Linked DNA regions of Homo sapiens: region 2 is linked to region 1. Evidence: promoter capture Hi-C in 16 types of primary human blood cells and fetal thymus (Javierre and others, 2016). All regions are on one chromosome and are shown on one strand. Each heading gives the region's core, a stretch centred on a gene start or on the middle of the fragment in contact. The rest is flanking DNA. Distances are from core to core; before and after follow the strand shown. Region 1 holds the start of PDCD10 (programmed cell death 10). Region 2 overlaps NMD3 (NMD3 ribosome export adaptor).

Region 1 (6,659 bases), core at 3,553-6,052:
TATAGAATGAAATATGGTTTCTACAGATAAGCTTCAACAAAGGTATAACTCCAGGGCCTTGAGGTTAAATGGTGGTTGAGCCCTGGGTTTTTCTGTCTGTGAAATTAAGACCTTAAGTGCCACCAGTTGCAGACTCCTTTACCCTCGCCTATATATCCTATCTCTGAGATGAATTTAGAAATGCTGGCACTCAAATCTGTAATGTATTTGCAGCGCACACAGTGTGAATCCAATTGTGCTCAATCAACACTTTTGCAAAGGCAAACTAGCATAAAGACATTCTCAGAAGGACTAATGTGTAAGCAATCATTCTGTGAGGTCAGCTGACTCTGTCTATCAAAGCGCAAACTGTCTCAATGTGTGCATTACAGAAGTATTGTCCAATGTCCAATGGTTCTAATTCAGTAACTGGTTACTCAATTTCTTTATGCTGAATATGACATAAAGTGCTCAGGACTAACAGGAGATAGAAAAGAAGTACATGGTCTCTAAGAGTTAATAACGTAGTTACTTAAAACACACCTTCCAAATTTTAAAGACTAAATTCTTACAGGTTTAAGATTTAAAAAAAAAAAAAAAAAAGAAACAACAAAAAAATCTCTCCCTTATTTGTGTACGTTAATTCTGATCCCAAAAGCAGTGTTTAACCTTTGGAATTTGCTTAATTAAATAAATGGGCTCTTGCTCATCTTAGTGTCTGGTTCAAGTACCTTTATTATTTTAAAGGGGCAAAACATCAGTTTAGGTATTTACTTTTTGATATTTTGTCCAAATAATGTTTCACTTAGAAGTTAGTGTATACAGGTAGGATTTTTATGGTTAATAATCCATGAATATTCAAAATCTAATGAATACCAGTTTGATTCCAGTTAAAATGGCAATTGACTGGAATCAGACTGGTATTCATTAGATTTTGAATATTTATGGGTTATAAAAGCATAAAAAAGGAAGGTTAATCATCCAAAATTTATTCCAGTAAAAATTGCCATTTTAACTGGAATCAGACTGGTATTCATTGGATTTTGAATATTCAATTTTACTTAGAAAAGTAATGTATCCCAGTATGAATACAGGCCTCTACAAATTAATGACTGGGGGAGAAAAGGTCATGGAATCATGGATTATAGGAATTTAACAAAAAATATAAAATCTTTTTTCTCTTTTGCTAAAGGTGTGTTTCTCAAGTAGTTTTCTTTATATCTATTCCCCTGTATCCTTCTTTACCAAAACCATTTGATCTTGAACCTTTAAGTCTTGCTCTTTTGTGCTGCATGCATCAGTGAATCTTCCTGTTAAAAAGAAATCCATGCTAACTTATTTTTACTCAAAAGGCTTAGAATCAGAACTCTAAAGAAAAGACCAAAGGATATGGTAATTTGAAATTAACCAAGGTTTTTGGCTAAAGAACAATCATCCCCAGAGCAATTTCCATTCAAGAGAGACATTCTGCACTCTGTTGCTTTTCCTTTCTCATCATACATATTCACTGATAGCCATACACAAATAGTAAAATTAAAGAGCAAAATAAGTAATATGCTTATAACATGGGTAGCATTTTACACAGAATTATAAACTGCCATATAACGAACGTTTTCAACACCAATCAAGAAAAATCTTCAGATTACCTGAGATTGAATGTGAATATTAACTAACATGAATCAAGAGTGCAAGGTAAAAAATAAATGCCATATATTTCCAATGATATTCTCTCATATAAAAACATGGTCTTTTTTCAAATGATATTGAAACCCAATCTCTTTTACTGACACAGTAAAAAGGATCCAAATCTTGGAAACAGGTGAAAAAAATCAGTACTTTAATACCACAAACTCATTCATTCCTAATCAGATTCTATCCTTTACCGTGTCTCAGAGCAGAAGACCTATAAAGAGCTGAGATTCAAAGTATATCTTAATTTCAACTGTTTAGATATTTATCTTCTATCCATTTGCTTGCTTATTAACTGTTTCCCAATAAAACTCTTTCAAACAGATCTTTTAATAAAGGCTCGGAAAGAATTTCATTGGTAGTATTATAATTATTACATAGGGGAAATAACCCAGCGACAGCAATTATTCAGTTTTACAAAATGAATTAGTAGTAGGGTCTGAGAAAGAATCTAAGACTGATTCAAGACAATCCACTTAATCACAAATAACAAGGGCAAACACAGTCTTTTCCATGTGTCACCCTAATACCCACTTTTTTTTTTACCCCCAAAATCATTTTCACAGGGCCATATCAGCTATGTGAATTAATAGATTCTCCAGTGCTGTAGCAAAGATAAAACCTGATCCTTATAGTGGTTAAGTTTAGCAGCTACTGTTGCTTTTTCTTTCTTCTAAGCTCTTTGCTGTTTTTGATACTTAGCTGATTTGCTTAGGGGTAATTAAAAAGCAGCTGTTTTTCTATGATCTATCTGTCTATATATTTCTATGGTATGTGAGAGTGTGGGAGGGAAGAGTATACACACTGAAAAGTCACTTAGGCTTATCGGTAGTAGCACTCAGTAGGACTGAACTTTAATCTGGGAAGAGAATTCATTTGAGCCATTTCTTTTCAAAAAGAAATTTGGGATGCATTACAAAAATAAAATTTAAAATCCCGAGAACTCAGGAAAGCATAGAAATAGGAGAAAACAAGACAATTACTCCATTTTATTGACCCTGGTTATTAAAAAAAAACATAAAGTATTGAGACAGACTCTGAAATATGCAACTGTCACAATGAAAGCATTTCAGAGCAAAATTTGCTGCAATATGCTACTATGATTAAAAGCCATGTAATCTGGGAACCTCTGTAACAAAATGAAAATGAACTAGGAAAATAGCTTCTTACTACTTCTCTAAAAATAAAAGGCTGTAATTTTGTCATAATTACACAAAGGTAGGTGAGACTTTCATCTTTACCCAGCATTACAACTTATTTCCATCCATAGGTATTACAATTAACGTTGCTTTGAATGCACATATAGTTTAATACCGAGAATAAACTATTATTTTATGACACTACATGTGTTTTAAACTGAACCCACTATCATAACACATATTAAGGGTAGTCCTTCAGCACATACTCTCTACCCAGAGAAAAGATTCCCACACAGCTTTCCATGTACTCGTTTTTAAAATGTACACATATTATCGGACACAAATGAGAAACTAACGAGCAGCAGTGAGGTACACCATATGTTTCCATTGTAGGCTGAATCCAGGTCTTTGTTCCAATATTCCAGAGCCACTGGGAAGAAAGCTAACTATCCATTCATTAAAATTCATTTTTACATTATTGCTGGCAAAAGTTATACTTTTGATAGATTAAGTCAGAGCCCATCCTATCCTGACTATTCCTGCCTGCACTTGCTTCTTTAATACGGATTTCTTGCAATTCTAGGAAACTGCAAAATAACCACCCTGGATAACAGGTCGGTAGCAGGACAATCTGATAAACCAACGTAAAGGGTAGACACTGAAGAAGAATGCAAAGTTATTTTCCTAGTGAAATAGTTCAGAAGTTATTCTATATCAATAGCAAAATTTTTGCTTTTTATAGGCTACGCACCTATAACATCCACCAGATAACATCCACCTCGTCCTCAATTAGCAGGATTTTTCTCAATCTTCAGATCTCCCAGAACAGTTTTACTGGTGCAACTCAAACCAAAAACACTAACCACGCCCTTTATACCCAGAGTCAAGCTTCCTTTTGCTTTTTTGCCCTTAAAGTCGAAAAATGTAAATCTTTCACCCGAGAGGTTTTGCACCGGTTTCCTAACCCAACGCGGACTCTTTTAGCTGTGTCTTGATGTAATTCCTATTGGAAGACGTTTTCTCCAGGGCAGTGCAGACGCCCCGAAGAAGGACCCACGCTTACCTCCCACACACCTGCAACCCCTGACGGGATGCTGGAGCTTGTGCTCGGCGGACTGTGCTCCGCTCCGCTCTCGTTCCTGCTTTCGTCTCTCCCGGGAAACTACAGTCCAGACTGCGCCTCTGGCTTCTACAGGGACCCAAGCTCCGCCTCTCCCTCCTCTAGTTGGCGAATTTGGCAGCTGTTGCTCCTCCCCCTGCTGTTTCTGCAGCTGCCCGGACCGGAGGCAGCGGAAAGCAGCTGCCCTGGTACCTTTCCGCTCCCTGCACTTCTGCAGCTGCTCTGCCACTTCCACTCCCGTGGGGGTCCCTCTCCCCTCCTCTGTGGCTCACACCTGGAGCGGCCTCCTGCCCCACCCAGGCGTCTCTGCTGGGAGCCCCGGCTCAGCCTATCCTTCCCCGACCTGTGTGTCCGGATGCCCGGTGTGCCTGGGGCTTAGCTGCTCTCAGGGAAGCTGCCCCTCTGCCCAGTGCAAGTCCCCACACCAAGCCCTCCCTTCACCTGGGCGATTTCCCCGAGGCTTCCTCTCCACCCACACGGCATACTCAGCCCGACAGCCCCAGGATCCCCACCACAGGCCCCTCACCCCCTTCCTTCCTCTGCTCTGTCAGCCCGCCCCCTCAATGGGTGAGGCGCCTGCGGGGCCTACTCCGCACCCTGATTGGCGCAGGTGAGGGCTTGCCCCGCCCTTCCTCTCCTTTCCGTGCACCATCTCTCTTCATCTCACCTCCTCCCGCAAAGGCAGGGAATTCTCCTACTATTGGCTAGAAGTGTCACCACCCATCGCCTCAGGATCCCCCGCATGGCCTGCCGGGAAGTGTAGTCTTCCGATTGCAGGAATTGCGGACAACGCCGGCGAGCGGGACTACGAGTCCCCATAAGCCTCTGCACGACTCCGGCTGGGCAGGATTCCGGACAACGCCTGGTTCCTCTTGGGTCCTTCCGGCGTCGCCGGAGTGAATTGATCCGGGAGTTGAAGAGGGCTGCAAGGTGGGAAGTGAAGTCAGTGCCTCAGTTGCTGGTAAGGTGTAGCTGTTCTGTCCCAGTCCCCGTAGCTCTGCACCGAGCAGAAGAGGTCTAGGGTCACGCAGGGGCCATGGCTGAGGCACTTGGGCTTGGTTCTGGCAGGCGGAGCGGACGGGGCTGAGAGCGGGGCCCTACGGGCGTAAGCGAGGTTACCCTACGCGAGTGGCGTAAAGCGGGTTTGTAAATGCCGCCTGCCGGCTTGGGCCCGAACGCCTCCAGGAAGTCTCCTCTAGGTGGGGGCGGGAGGGGAAGGGCGAGGTTGGCCCCTGGTGCCCCGGGAGAGGGGACAGGGCGGATGTGCCTGGGGTGGGGTCCTTTGAAGGTGTGGCTTCGGACCGAGAGGTGAGGCTGCTGTTTTCCCCCTGCTTTGTAAGTAAGAGAAAAGGGAGGAGGAAGGAAAGGGTGCTTGGGAGTCGGCTCTTGGGGGTGACTCGGGTTATGCCCTTTGAGGGAAGAGGAGCACTGGAAGAAGGAAGAGACAAATGTTGGGGTCTACGGATTCAGTTCCAGTTTAATGATGTGGCCCTCTAAGGAGATAATTTTGCCTTAAACAGAAAGACTTGACCCTCTTAGGTGTCATACCTAAGGTATGTTTTTACTCCTTTACTGCTTTCAGAGCGCTTTCATTTTGGGATGCTGATGAGGAAACCGAGGGATTATATGACGTGCCCAAGGTCACACACGTAGGGACAGACTTTCTGAATCTAGTTCGGTTCGAGTCCAGCTTTAGAGTAGGGACGTTGGTTGTGCTTTTTGAAAAGGGTGGAGGAAGTTACAAAGTAAATGTATTTTATATAGTATATCTAAGAAGCCATTGTGAGATAAAAAGTTGTTTCTTGAACCGGAGTGAAATTCCTCAATAAAGGAAAGATCCTTTTGGAAAAAATAAAAATGGCCAGTTTCAACTTTTACAGATTTTTCCCCTTTTTTTAGGGGTGTATTAAATGATAGACTCTACTCTCACAGTTCATTTTTACGGGTAGGTAATAGGATGGGAGAACAACAGTTAAACAATATATCCCATCCTTAGAAGAATATTCTTTTCTTTTTCTACCTTAGGACTGTTTTTACTCTCATTTTGTAAAACTGATAATAGTGGGATTGGAATTCTTTCACAAAACTACACTTTTTTCAAATAATGTAGCGTTAGGAGAGTTTAGTGTGCCCATTACTAGAAAAGAAGGTATTTTGCATTTCTTGGAGGTAACATCGTCTTTTTTGAGACTTTACTTTTCCCCCATTTTCTTGACTCTGGGCTGTATTTGTGTGTGTGTCTGCAAATAATAAAATTGGGCTCTTGCATATTTTTATTTTTCTTAGCATCAACTGTGACTTTCAATTCATTCTTACTTTACATTGAAGAATGAAAAAACAGTACACGTATAGTTCATATCTTGCAGAAAGTAGTGCCTTTATGCAAGTCTTATCCTCTATAATGATTATGACCAGTTATAGCTCATGACTATTATTATTGGATAAGTTTTTAATAGAATTGTTAGAGTATGTTCATTGATGGCAGAATTTATTTGTGATAACTTTATATCCATACAGGTTAGCATGTAATAAATCATGGCTTACTCTTAACATGTAATAAATCATAGCTTACTGTTTTATATATAAGTTGATCATCAGACTATGCTGAATTTTGAATGTACTCTGCAGTTACTATATTATCAACAATGTGCTTCACTTTTTAATGGAAAAACATTTTTTCGGAACAGAGGTATTATCTTCCCTGATGGTTGAAATTAAGATGGTCTGGAAAT
Region 2 (6,320 bases), core at 623-3,122, 6.5 Mb after region 1:
AGACCTAAAACTATAAAACACTTGAAAGAAACTATAGGAGAAAATCTTTGTGACCTTGATTAGACAAACAGTTTTTAAGCATAACCCCAAAACCACAATTAAAAGAAAAAACTTGATAAACTGGACTTCAACAAAATTTAAAACTTTTGCAATTCAAAGGACACCATTAAGAATATAGAGTGTGAATTTTCTCCTACACACTAGGAGAAAATATGTGCAAACCATATATGCAGTAAGAGACTTGTATCCAGAATATGCTCAACATCGTTAGTCATTAGCAAAATGGAAATTAAAACCACAATGAGATACCACTTCATACCACCCTCTAGAATGGCTATAAACAAAAATATAAGAACAAGTGTTGAGGAGGATACAGAGAAATATTGGCGGCAGGAATGTAAAATGGTACAGCCACTTTGAAGCAGTTTGGTAGTTTTTTATATATAAACATAAATTTACCATATGACTTGGTAATTCCACACCTAAGTATGTACCCAAAAGAATGAAACAGCTGAGGTGCTTGCTGAGGGCAAATAAAATATGCAATGGGCAGTGGAAAAAGGTAGCTATAAGTACCAGCTACAGACCCATTATAGTACTCAGAAGAAAATTTATGATCTTAAATATATGTATTAGAAATTAAAAATAAACTAAGCTTTCAATTAATTAAAACAAAACAGAACTAAATAGAGTTGAGGGAATTAGTGTTAAAAACAAAATTAATAAAAAGATTGTTTAAAACTAAAAATAGTTTTTTGAAAAAACTAACATAATAGATAAAAGTAGCTAGTCTAAGGTGAGGTGAGTAGAAAGAGAAAAGATAAACATTAGGAACAATAGAGAGGACATAACTACAGTTACGGATGAGATTTATTTTATTTGTTCAATTTTATACCAAGAATCTAAAAAGCTAGATGAAATGGTTTTTCTTGGAAAATGGTATTAAAATTGACTCAAGGGGTAGAATACCTGAGAGGTGAATATCATAAAAGAAACTGAAAAGACGTCCCTTAGGAGATATCAAATTGGATGGCTTAATGGGCAAGTTCTTAAAAAACTTCTAGAGGTTAATTAAATGCTAGGTAGAAAGAAGGCAAGCTTTCTTTCTAACTCTTTTCAATGTCACTCACTTAACTGAGAGCAAGATTGGACAGAAGTATGTATGCATATGTATCAAACAGAAACCTCAAGAAATATCATACTTAGGTATGAAACATAAAAAGATAATTATGTTTGACATTAGCAGAAAATTAAAAATTCAGTTTCTCAGTTGCTCTAGCCACATTTCAAGTACTCAACAGCCAAATGTGGCTAGTGACTATACCATACTGGACAGTGCAGATAAAGAATTAAGTTGTTTTTTTTTTTTTTCCTAACAGAAAGTTCTTTTGGACAGTACTAATCCAGATATTATCAGTAAATATAAGATTACTTAGGTATGTTGAAATAAAAATCTGACATAATTTCAAATGCTTTTGAGTTTTAACTCACCATGAATCTCTTTGATACGAAGTGTATTCTGATGCATTCCATATTTCAGAATTAACTGTTCCAGATAGTAGAAAGTTTTTTTATGCAAAGTCTAAAATATAAATTATTTGATCAATAAATGCCCCACAAAAAAGCCATTTATAGGTATAGGACACACATACTATCTACAGATAGAGCATACTGATTTTTCAAACAATAACAATCTTTAAAGATTATCTAAAATGTAATAATGATCTATTTCCAAAGGTGAATGCTTCAGGGACCCAGACTATCCCTGGATTTAGAAAGAAGGAAAAGTTATAATTAACAAAGACGAAATATAAGATGTAGGACTCACTCATCATCTTCTCTCATTACCTTTTGCCTCACTTGAATCACAGCCTTCCAGAAATCCTTAGCTTCTACTCTATGGCAATCTCCACACATTTGGGACTGAACAACATAATCCACCACAAACACTTGTTGAAGGATAGCACCATTCATCACCTGATAAAACAATTACACTCCTTCATTCTTTTGGTTTTGTTTAATAACAAATATTTTCTTTAAAGAAGAACCTTTAATATTTAATTTAAAACTTTTTCCATTAATGCTTTGAGGACATCAATCAAATGTCCTCAAATTTAAAGTCATAAAAACAAGTTATACTATTTCAAGAACGGTATACAGATTTAATTCCTAAGATTTATTAGATTAGCATTTCAAATTTTCCTTTAGCTGAAGTGGTTGTGAGAATATTCTGTGTATATTTTACATATATATATATATATATAATTTTTTTTGAGACAGGGTCTCACTCTGCCTGTTGCCCAGCCTGGAGTACAGTGGCACGATCTTGGTTCACTGCAACTTCTGCCTCCTGGGCTCAAGTGATTCTCCACCTCAGCCTCCCAAGTAGCACACACCACCACGTCCAGCTAACTTTTGTATTTTTAGTAGAGATGGGGTCTCGAACTCCAGGGCTCAAGTGATCTGCCTACCTTGGCCTCCCAAAGTGCTGGGATCACAGGTGTGAGCCACCATGCCCAGCCTATACATGTTTACATAGAAAAATCATCCTTAGAAGAAAAAAATAAGGAAAACTTCTCAAAAAAAAAATTCCTTAATTTAATGATTCCCAAACATAACTGATCAGAAATCACATGGGAAGCTTTTTAAATACAGATTGAACATTCCAAATCCAAAAACCCAGAATCTGAAATTTCAGCTTCAAAATCTGAAACTTCTTGAGTTTCTAAATGACACTCAAAGAAAATGTTCACTGGAACATTTTGTATTTGAATTAGGGATGTTCAACCAGTTAAGTATAATGCAAAATTCCAAAATCCAAAAAATCCAAAATCTGAAACACTTCTTGTCCCAAGCATTTCAGATAAGGGATACTCAACCTACTTATAGATTCCCGGCCTCACATACAGAGAATTTTTGCTTCAGTTATGATGAGTCATTACAATGATCAGCCAAGTTTGAGGATCAGTACCTTAGACCATGTTTTTACTTCAATCCTTTCCTAATAAAAATAACTCTGGAAAAGTAAGTCTGCTAATCAGAAGCAATGACTACTCTTACTAGTGATCTAATTATTTGTACAGATGCTCAAAAGAAAACAAACAGCTAAAATTGAGTGTACTCTTTTTCTTTTAAGCTGTTCAAGCCATAAAATAACTTATCACTGGGTCTTCATTTTCACTACCTGCACTTTAACCATGCTGAGAAAATTATGTACTGCTTACCTCTTTCTGAATAGTCAGTTTAACTTTAAGTCTCTTAGAATGAGGCTCAGTCCAAACAAAGCCTGCATCTACAAGCCGTACCTTCAATAAAACACAAACAAAAAGAAACGTAAGTTCTCACCTAGGAGGAAAAAAAACACGAAAGAACAAATCATCAATAAGCAGATTTCATAAGATGCTTAAGGAATCTGTGATCAGCATACTACACACCATCATCACAAAAAAAGATTAATCATTGGTTACGTAACAACAGCAGCAAATCAAAGGACAACCCAATGACTATATTAATGCAACTGATATAATTTAAGCAAAAATTAAAGTATTTGCATAGGAAAAAAATTCTTTTCCCTTAAAAAAAAAAAAAAAGTACATTGTCCTTTAAAAGGAAATTATATTTTTTGGAGGAAAGCAAAGACCTTGTGACCTCATTATTTATTAGTAACCTCATGAACAAAAGTTTCCACTTGGATTATTCTCTCTATATTCTGTGACTTTTTTTAAGAAGTGACATTGATTAGAGAAGTTGCATGCACTGAATACTAAATCCACAACTATAACTCACTACTAAATCTGCAGCATCTGCATAGGCCAAAACAGTTTGCTATATGTGAAGATCTGAATATAACTCAAGAATGGCCAGAATGGGTGTTTGGGGAGAAGGGGTGGGTGGGAGAACAAGAATGGAGGCTGCTGTAATAACCTGGGCCAGATTGTAGATGATCTGAACTGAGAGGCACTGGAAATAACAAAAGCAGATGCAAGGGCTAGTTAGGAGATAAAAATCTGTAAGATTTATCTGCACAGTCCAAGTGATGCAGAAAAAAAATCTGTAAGATTTAATGGTAACTGGATATGGAAAAGAGGAAGAGAACAGACTCCAGAATGATGCTCAAGTATTTGCTTAGACAACTAGGCAGTACACTTTTTGTGACTACCTATACCGAAATAAACAATGGATATAATGAGAAAAAGATGTTACATTTGATTTCAGACATTTCAGTTTAAGACAGTATCTGTGAGATACCCAAGAGGACTTTTCAGTGAACAGTAAGATACAATTGGTCTGGAGATCTATAAAAAAATTTGGGCTGCAGTTAACAGATTTGAGAGGTATCAGCAGCAGATTATACTTTTATCAAGCACTGTCTGGTAAAAAGTAGACTGGCCACTTTTAGTGTAGATGCAAAGATTCAACACACCAGAGTAAAACCCTCCTCATATAGCTGGCCTCCCTAAAACAAAGCCTAGTAGTTAACAAGTGATGCCAGGTACACAGGGTGATAGGCAGATTCCTATTCCTTCAATCTCCATCAGCAGTGGTTAAAAAAAAAAAAAAAAAAAAAGCCCCAAAGGCACTGAATAAGACTGATCTTCCCCTCAAGCTCCAACCTCCACCTGCAGGAATGGAGAGTCTCCTTGACATCCTGCTCGGCATTCCCCAACACAACCACTGCACTATGTGTCCTCAGACAACCATGACTAATCAACTTTATTAGTCCCTTTCTTTCTTTACCATAGTCCCAGACACCTCAGTCACCCCTATTTCCCATACTCCAATTTCCATATGGTTATGCATATTCCCTATTCTGTCCCCATCTAACACTCCTCCCCGAATCCTAAAACCCTTCTACTGTGCCCTCCGGAGCTCAACATTCATTAACAATGAAATCTCCTAAATCCTCAACTTTGCTGAACATTCCCTTCACCTTCTAGATCTCCTGATTTCTCTCTCCCCTGCAGCTATATAAAGTGATAACTGATTCTTCCTATCACTGGACCAGGCACCAGACAGCTATCGTCCTTGCTCTTCATTGCTAATTACAGACCATTCTCCTTGTCTCCTCCTCAAATATACCCAGCTCTAAGTCTAAAGTCATTAGACTCTACCACCCGCAACTCTCTTTTTTATAGTAATCTATTCATCTTTGTATCACTTGTTTTCATTTCTCAAAAGATTTTAGCTTCTGGCTCACCATCACACTTTCCAACAATATTAATACCTAGCGATTTCAATATCCACACAGGTGATCCCCACAATACCCTGACCTCTCACTCCATTCTTTGAGTTCTTCTTCTCCCAAAATATTATCCACCTTCCTATCTCAGTCACTCATATGCCTCTATTACCAGTAACTGCAAACCCTCCAAACTATCAATTCCAAACATCCTACTCCCTGACTACCACCTCCCATCTTTCCAGCTTATTTCCTCTAGTTCCTGGGCACCAAATATCTTTCAAGCTAATATAATGGACAATCCATTCATCCTACCAACTTTATTCCTCATTCCTCCTCACTAGCTTCAAAATCAATAATCAAAATTATTCTCATGTACACACTCAATTTCCTTGTTCCCTCTCTTATTTCACCTTAGCCACTAGGCTAAATTATAAATTTGGTTAAATCCAGTGCTCTGCCTGCTCTATGCCTTGACTATGTGGCTGACAGAACTACAGAAATAGATGCACACCACAGTGACTAGTCTAAACTTGTAACAGTAACCCTCAGCACTGCCCAGCACCCATCCAACACTGTCCTGGTGCATTTCCTCTAGTTCTAGAGGACTATTTCATATCTTCCGCTCTCTCCTCAAACATCTATCTAACAGCTCTTCCCACATAGCTACTGCCCACGCTTCTGTTTTCTCCAGTACAAAAGAAGGAACCAGAGGAGAATTCCCAGAAGCTCCCACTCAACACCTTCCCTGCTGTTACCACAGATGAATTATCCATACTCCCATCAAGATCAACCTCCAGAATGCCCCTCTAGAGAGCAGAGATCTTTACTTTGTTCCATGAAATATTACAGCCTCCCAAAATGGTGCTTGGTGAAGAGTAAGTGCTGAATACTTGTTGAATGAAGGAGTGAATTAACAAATAAATGTATTCTTTCACTATGTACTATATCTCTTTTCCACTTATTGAGGCCACCCCCCAGCCAATTATTCTTCTCCCTGCAATTTCACAAAAATTTCCCTCCGTACTCTAACACTCCCAGAGAGCTTACAAATACAGTTATATATACCATCTTAAGAAATGTATCCTGGCCAAGCACAGTGGCTCATGCTTGTAATCCCAACACTTTGGGAAGCTGAGGC

Evidence for each region. The method cuts DNA at HindIII sites, captures the fragments that hold promoters and counts their contacts. A CHiCAGO score of 5 or more calls a contact.
Region 2: a fragment that was not itself captured here is called in contact with the fragment with the promoter of PDCD10 in region 1 in 1 of 17 cell types (total CD4 T cells); the score reaches 6.2 in total CD4 T cells.

Annotation. Positions count from the first base shown.
Region 1 is chr3:167,733,035-167,739,693 of GRCh38, reverse strand. PDCD10 (programmed cell death 10) reads left to right here and starts at 4,802. Exons shown (of 9, transcript NM_007217.4): 1 at 4,802-5,032; 2 at 5,344-5,480. SERPINI1 (serpin family I member 1) reads right to left here and starts at 3,973. Exons shown (of 9, transcript NM_001122752.2): 1 at 3,871-3,973. RefSeq lists an enhancer at 4,551-4,990 and a silencer at 5,041-5,170. The HindIII fragment of the contact is 6,113 bases long and covers 3,698-6,659 here.
Region 2 is chr3:161,230,384-161,236,703 of GRCh38, reverse strand. NMD3 (NMD3 ribosome export adaptor) reads right to left here. Exons shown (of 16, transcript NM_015938.5): 5 at 3,225-3,305; 6 at 1,849-1,977; 7 at 1,492-1,582. Among named protein-coding and RNA genes, the nearest start is that of NMD3, 12 kb to the right of the region's middle. The HindIII fragment of the contact is 1,543 bases long and covers 1,101-2,643 here.